Linked DNA regions of Homo sapiens: region 2 is linked to region 1. Evidence: promoter capture Hi-C in human tissues and cell types (Jung and others, 2019). All regions are on one chromosome and are shown on one strand. Each heading gives the region's core, a stretch centred on a gene start or on the middle of the fragment in contact. The rest is flanking DNA. Distances are from core to core; before and after follow the strand shown. Region 1 holds the start of ADAMTSL2 (ADAMTS like 2). Region 2 has its middle 7.5 kb from the start of BRD3OS.

What was found. Contacts are between HindIII fragments. The study calls those that stand out against the background at their distance.
Region 2: a contact is called between a fragment that was not itself captured here and the fragment with the promoter of ADAMTSL2 in region 1, in 2 of the 25 tissues and cell types used here (lymphoblastoid cells and mesenchymal stem cells).

The regions. Positions count from the first base shown.
Region 1 is chr9:133,532,994-133,536,599 of GRCh38, forward strand. ADAMTSL2 (ADAMTS like 2) reads left to right here and starts at 1,711. Exons shown (of 19, transcript NM_014694.4): 1 at 1,711-1,924; 2 at 3,570-3,606. RefSeq lists a silencer at 228-317 and enhancers at 576-1,117, 1,118-1,657, 1,658-2,199, 2,740-3,281. The HindIII fragment of the contact is 7,890 bases long and covers 1-3,606 here.
Region 2 is chr9:134,016,145-134,019,750 of GRCh38, forward strand. No RefSeq gene overlaps it. Among named protein-coding and RNA genes, the nearest start is that of BRD3OS, 7.5 kb to the right of the region's middle. The HindIII fragment of the contact is 3,150 bases long and covers 133-3,282 here.

The sequences.
Region 1 (3,606 bases), core at 461-2,960:
AGTCACCCTGGCGCTGGCTGGATGTGAGGCCACAAACGCCAGGAGAGCTCGGGGACTGTGCCAAGGGGTGCGAGGCCTGGCGGTCACCAGAAGAGAGAGGAAGGGGATGGCAGAGGCACCCAGAGCGAGTGTAATCCGGTCATGTGAGAGGGACTGGGTGTGTGTGTGCCTGTGTGTGTGTGTGTGTGTGTGTGTGTGTGTGTGCTGGGTGACAGGTGCCACCATGTCTGTGATTCAGCACAGCGACCCCAGGGGGCAGTGTGGGCCTGGGTTAGGGTTAGGGTTAGTCCTGGTTCCACACCGCAGGTGGCCCTGTGACTAGGAGCAGCCACCTTGCATCCCAGTTGCCCCAGCAGGAGAATGAGATGAATAAGACTTGCCTGCCCGAGGGTCCCGGGGAGAGAAACTTAAACAACCCGGCAGAGGAGAGAACCCGACACTCAGGAGCGCTGGCATCCCAGCCTTGCCTACTGGAGAGGTGACTTGGTCCCCGAACCTCAGTTCTTCCACCTGTGAAATGCAGATCATAAAGGTGGATCTGGCCTCACAGCTCTGGGCCCGTAGGACAAGCTGGACAGAGGGCAGACGGTATTATCGCTTTCACTACTATTACTGGTGGCTTTCCTTCCCAGCCTTTCTGGTGGGTGGTCAGACACAGGGCAGAACTTTCTCATGAAGGCAGCTGAAGGAACTCACAAGTTTCTTCCAGCAGGGAGGACAGAGGGAAGGAGAAGTGTCTTCCCGGCACTGCTGTGGGCCCAGGACATCTGCTGCATGGAGGCAGGGGCATGGATGAAAAGACACAGATGACCTGATGGAATGGTGCCCCAGCTTCCTCCTCCTCCCCTTTTTGGAGGTGCCTCTGTTTGCCGAGGATGGGCTCTGGGGAAGCTGGTGTGCAGAGGCTAGGTGCCCAGCCTTGCTTTAGGAAAGCCTCACAAAGTCTGGGGCCCGCCGGGAGTTTCCCAGGGGGGCTCTGCTGCTCCACCCACTCTCGCTCCCCTCTGTGCCCTGACTCAGCAGGAACAGAGGCTTGAGCTCCAGGCCTGGCCTGCCAGGGGCTGCCAAGTTGGTGCTGGACATCTGCAGAATCCCTGAGCCTCTCTGCCCTGGCCCTGGCTGCTCTAGCCATCTGGTCAGCAGGCCACGGGCACATCTGTCTCCTCCCTGGAGCCCTTGGTTCATTCTCGCTGGGTCTCCCTGCGTCCCTCCACCTGCTTAGGCCCCTGCATCTCGGGAGCTTTCTGAGGCTCGTGACCTGGGGCACGGTCGTCCCGGAAGTTCAGCCTTTCCCTCCGTACAACGGAGCCATCAGACGGGACACCTCATACATCCCAGACCCCATTCTCAGGAGCCCCAGGGACAGGGCCCGCTCTGGAGGCAGAAGCCGGACAGGCGGGGCTGGGGCTTTGCCACCGCCAGCCTCCCCGGTAACCTCAGGCCAGCGGCTGCTCCGTCTGGACACCCGACATGTGGCCCCCAGTTCTGGACCCGGGAAGAAGGCCTCCCTGCTCGCCGCTCCTGGGCCGCCGCCGCCGGCAGCAGCCAACAGGCAGCTGGGCCGGCCTGGCCGGGCTCCAGAGGCGCAGAGCGGGTTAAAGTGTGCGCCAGGCCGGCCGGCGCGGGCGGGGGAGCGGCCTGGTGGGAAGTGTGAGTGTTCCTCCCCGTCTGCCTGACAGCTATAAAGGCGGCCGCCGGCGCAGAGCCGCCACTGGGCTGCGCCCCTCCCGGGAACCCCCTCTCTTGGATGCTCTTTGAAGTGGGAGAGGGAGGCGGCGCGGGGGAGGAGGGGAAGGGGAGAGGGAGGCCGGGCCGCAGCCTCTGCACTCACGCCGCCCCCGCACGCACAGCGCACCTGGCGCCGTCTGCCCTCCGCAGCGCTCGCCCCTTTCTCTGGGAGGACAACCTGCTGACCCGAAGCCAGGTAGGCCACCTCGTCCCCGTCCCCCTCACGTTGCAGCGTCCACCAGGCCAGCCCACTGCTCAGAGTGGGGCTGGGGGTAGGAGCACCCCGCGCCCTCTGGAGCCGTTACATAACGTGGGGAGGCTTGTGGGGAGGGGTCGGGCCGCAGAGCACGGGGCAGGGTGGCCTCCCAGCACCTAGCCTTGTGCGCCCGGAGCTCTGTGTGCACGGCAGACCTCTCTGCTGCCGCCAGCCGCTGCTTTTGGACCCCAGGGAGGGATGGATCCCCGTGAGCGAGGCCTGGCCAGAAGCCAGTGGTGTCTGGAAGCCTTAATGAAAAAAGCAAGTGTGAGGCCGGCTGGCACCTGTCTTCAGCCGGCAGGCAGAGGCTGGGGCACCCGTTAGCCAATGGCACAGTGGAGGGGGCTCCTGTGGGTGTGAGGCTGAGAGTGCAGATGGAGGTCTGCAGGGGAGGGAGGTGGGGGGCAGGCGGCGGGGGCAGGGGAGGTCAGACTCAGGCTCCCCACTCCAGGGTGCACTGCTGCGTCGTCCGGGCTGCAGTGGTGTCCTTGGAGTGGCCCCTGAAAATCTGCAGGTGCCGGGCCTGCAAGGAAACTCTTCAAGTTGGATGGAGGCTGCTGAGGAGGGAGGGGCAGAGCCCGAGTTGGCCTCTGGCCTGGCAGGGGTGAGGGGTGACCTCCATGCCTTCTTCCCCTGGAATTGGCCAGGCGTGGGGGTCGAGTCCCTGAGTTTGCTAGTGTGCTACCTTGCTGTGTGGCTTTGAGCAGGTTGGCTCCCCTCTCTGGGCTCCAGGTTATGAGTGCAGGCTGCGTGGTTTCTGAAATCCCTTCTCTAACTCGCTGGCAAGTGACCCTCAGCACCTGAGCAAGGCCTGGACAGAGGTCATGGTGGATCTCTGGTCTTCCCTTCCACAGGGCAGGGTCGACGCTGAGGAGGGGGTGGGGAGAGCTGAGGGCCTGGAGGCTGGACAGTCCCTTCCAATGGGCTTGCTTTGACCCCTGGCAGGTGTTTTGAGCCAAGGGTGCTGGCTGTTGGGAGGAAGTCAGCCTTGTGGCCCTGGACTGCTGACATGCTGGCACAAACTGCACCTCCTCCTGCCCTGCCCCTCCCCCAATTCCATCTTCTCTCCGGGGATCGGGAGGCGGCATAGGTACCTGGGTTCTGCCTCACCTGAGTGCCGGCTGTTGCTGGATGCTGACTGTGGAGCTGCTGGTCTAGGGCGAGGCTGCACATTCCCCCGGGACCTGGCCAAGCCCATCCCCATGCACTGACCCTAGCAGCCAGTGGCAGAGGCCATTCTCCTGCGAGGCCAGCAAGAGCTGAGCCAGTTAAAATCCCAAGGTGCTCCTGCCAAGGCGCTGGACTGAGCCCAGGCCCATCCCTTCGAACCAGAGCCTTTCCCCCCGCCTGGGTCCCCAGCCCCCTCAGCCGAGGCTGGCTGTCTCCACAGCCCTTCTCTAGGGGGCTTGAGGACTTGGAGGCAAAGCATGGCATGCTTCCCTGCATGCCCTTGGATCAAGGGTGGCACAGGCTTAGCACGCACACCGCCGCTGGGTGTCTTGCCTGAAGCAGGCATTACTAATCATTCACCAAGCTCCTTCTTGCTAAGCCTAGACTGAGGCGGGGGGTTCATCCTTCCCAACAGGGTCTGCCAGACAACCACGACCAACTAGTCCCAGATA
Region 2 (3,606 bases), core at 458-2,957, 480 kb after region 1:
TTTTTAATTTTTCATTTGTGGGGGTACATAGTAGATACATATACTTATGGGGTATATGAGATGTTTTGACGCAGGCAATGTGGAATAACCACATCGTGGAGAATGGGGCATCCATCCCCATTTCCAGGTATTTGATATATTTTGAAATTATTGTAAATGGTATCTTTTTTTTTTTTGAGACAGAATTTCACTCTTGTTGCCCAGGCTGGAGTGCAATGGTGCAATCTCGGCTCACTGCAACCTCCACCTCCTGGGTTGAAGCGATTCTCCTGCCTCAGCCTCCCAACCAGCAGCGATTACAGGCATGCACCACCATGCCCAGCTAACTTTTTATATTTAGTAGAAACAGGGTTTCACCATGTTGGTCAGGCTGGTCTCAAACTGCCGACCTCAGGTGATCTGCCTGCCTTGGCCTCCCAAAGTACTGGGATTACAGGCGTGAGCCACCACGCCTGGCCTGTAAATGGTATCTTTTAAACACTTGTTTTCTGCTTTTTGCTGTCATTTAGAACAGTAGTTGACTCTGTAGATTAATTTTCCATCAAGCAACCTTGTGTCAACCTTGTTGATGGAAAAAAAAAAAGCTGTGAAATATTTAAAGAAGTTTATTCTGAGCCAATGAGTGACCATGGTCCAGAAAACAGTCTCAAGAGGTCTGGAGAAAGTGCAGTCGAGGTGGTTGGGTTACAGTTTGGTTTTATACATTTTAGAGAGACAGGATATATAGGTAAAATTATAAATCAATACATGGAAGTTTACATTGGTTCAGCCTAAAGAGGTGGGAGGTCTTGAAGCTGAGGGGGGCTTACAGATCATAAGCAGATTCAAAGAATTTCTGATTGACAACTGGTTGAAAGAGTTAAGCTTTGTCTAAAGACTTGAAGTCAGTAGAAAGAAATGCTTGAGTTGGCTGGGTGTGGTGGCTCAAGTCTATAATCCCAGCACTTTGTGAGGTGGAGGTGGGCGATCACCTGAGGTCAGGAGTTCGAGACCAGCCTTGCCAACATGGTGAAACCCCATCTCTACTAAAAATACAAAAATATGCTGGGCATGGTGGCACACGCCTGTGATCCCAGCTACTTGGGAGGCTGAGGCAGGACAATAGCTTGAACCCGGGAGGCAGAGGTTGCAGTGAGCCGAAATCACGCTACTGCACTCCAGCCTGAGCAACAGAGTGAAACTCTATCTCAAAAAAAAAAAAAAAAAAAAAATGCTTGAGTTAAGATAAGGGGATTATGGACACCGAGGTTCTTATTATGTAGATGAAGCCTCCAAGTAGCAGCCTTAGAGATAATAGAGGGTGAATGTCTCTTCTCAGACCCTAAAGGTGTTAGACCAAGCTTGTCCAACCTGTGGTCCATGGGTCACAAGAGGCCCAGCACAGCTTTGAATGTGGCCCAACACAAATTCACAAATTTTCTTAAAATATAATGAGATTTTTTTGTGATTTTTTTTAAGCTCATCAGCTATTGTTAGTGTTAGTGTATTTTATGCATGGCCCAAGATAATTCTTCTTCTTCCAACGTGGCCTAGGGATTCCACAAGATAGGACCCCCCTGGCCGGGCGTGGTGGCTCACGCCTGCAATCCCAGCACTTTGGGAGGCCGAGGCGGGCAGATCACAAAGTCAGGAGATCGAGACCATCCTGGCTAACACAGTGAAACCCCGTCTCTACTAAAAATACAAAAAATTAGCCGGGCATGGTGGTGGGCGCCTGCAGTCCCAGCTACTTGGGAGGCTGAGGCAGGAGAATGGCGTGAACCCAGGAGGCAGAGTTTGCAGTGAGCAGAGATCACGTCACTGCACTCCAGCCTGGGCGACAGAGACTCTGTCTCAAAAAAAAAAAAAAAAAAAAGATCAGACCCACCTGTATTAGACTCTCATTTAATTTCTCCTAAATCCGGGAAACGCCTAGAAAGGAAAGGCCAGGCTCCTAATAGAGATTCTTTACAGATGCAAATTTCCCCCACAGAAGACGGCTTTGCAGGGCCATTCCAAAATATGTCAAAGAAATGTATTTGGGGGCTGGGCACGGTGGCTCATGTCTGTAACCCCAGCACTTTGGGAGGCCGAAGCCAGTGGATCACCTGAAGTCAGGAGTTCGAGATCAGCCTGACCAATATGGTGAAACCCCGTCTGTACTAAAAATACAAAAATTAGCTGGGCGTGGTGGCGGGCGCCTGTAATCCCAGCTACTCAGGAGGCTGAGGCAGGGGAACTGCTTGAACCTGGTGGTGGAGATTGCAGTGAGCCAAGATCGTGGCACTGCACTCCAGCCTGGGCGACAGAGCGAGACTCCATCTCAAAAAAATAAAGAAATATATTTTGAGGTAAAATATTTTCCTTTCCTTCAGGGTCTGCTATCTGTCATGTGGTGCTATACAAGGGTCTGGTTGGAATTTGGTATCTTGTTGCCATAAAGAGTCTGTTTTGGCAGGGCGCGGGGGCTCACGCCTGTAATCCCAGTACTTTGGGAGGCCAAGGCAGGTGGATCACGAGGTCAAGAGATCGAGACCATCCTGGCCAACATGTTGAAACCCCATCTCTAGTAAAAATACAAAAATTATCTGGGCATGGTGGCGCACGCCTGTAGTCCCAGCTACTCGGGAGGCTGAGGCAGAAGAATCGCTTGAACCCAGGAGGCAGAGGTTGCAGTGAGCTGAGATCACGCCACTGCACTCCAGCCTGGCAACAGAGACTCTGTCTCAAAAAAAAAAAAAAAGTCTGTTTTGTCAGTCTCACGACCTCTATTTTAATGATGCTGGCCAGTGGTGCCTAAACTCCAAAAGGGAGAGGGGAGAACGAGACATGTCCAGCCTCCCTTCTTGTCATGGCCAGGAATGCTGTTTTTCAGGTTTCTCTGGGGTCCCCTTAGCCAAGAAGGGGTCTGTTCAGTCCACCAGGGGCTTAGGATTTTTATTTATTTATTTATTTTTTTAAAGCTTTTTTTTTTTTTTTTTTTTGAGACGGAGTTTCACTCGTCTCCCAGGCTGGAGTGCAATGGTGTGATCTCGGCTCATTGCAACCTCCACCTCCCGGGTTCAAGCAATTCTCCTGTCCCAGCCTCCCAAGTAGCTGGGATTACAGGTGCCCGCCACCACACCCAGCTAATTTTTGTATTTTTAGTAGAGACAGGGTTTCATCATATTGGTCAGGCTGGTCTCAAACTCCTGACCTCAGGTGACCTGCCCACCTTGGCCTCCCAAAGTACTGAGATTACAGGCGTGAGCCACCGTGCCTGGCCCTTAAAACTTTTTTGAGATAGGGTCTCACTCTGTCGCCAAGGCTGGAGTACAGTGGTGCAACCACAGCTCACTGCAGCCTTGACCTCTCGGGCTCAAGCATTGCTCCCACTTTAGCCTCCCAAGTAACTGGGACTTCAGGTACACACCATCATGCCTGGCTAATTTTTTGTATTTTTATTTAAAAAGGGGTTTTACCATGCTGCCCAGGCTGATCTTGAACTCCTGGGCTCAAGCAATCCACCCGCCTTGGCCTCCCAAAATGTTGGGATTACAGGCATGAGCCAACATGGCTGGCCAGGATTTTATTTTTGGTTTGCAACCTAAAAGGAAGAAGCTGAGGAAAAATTAATGTAAGTAGAGA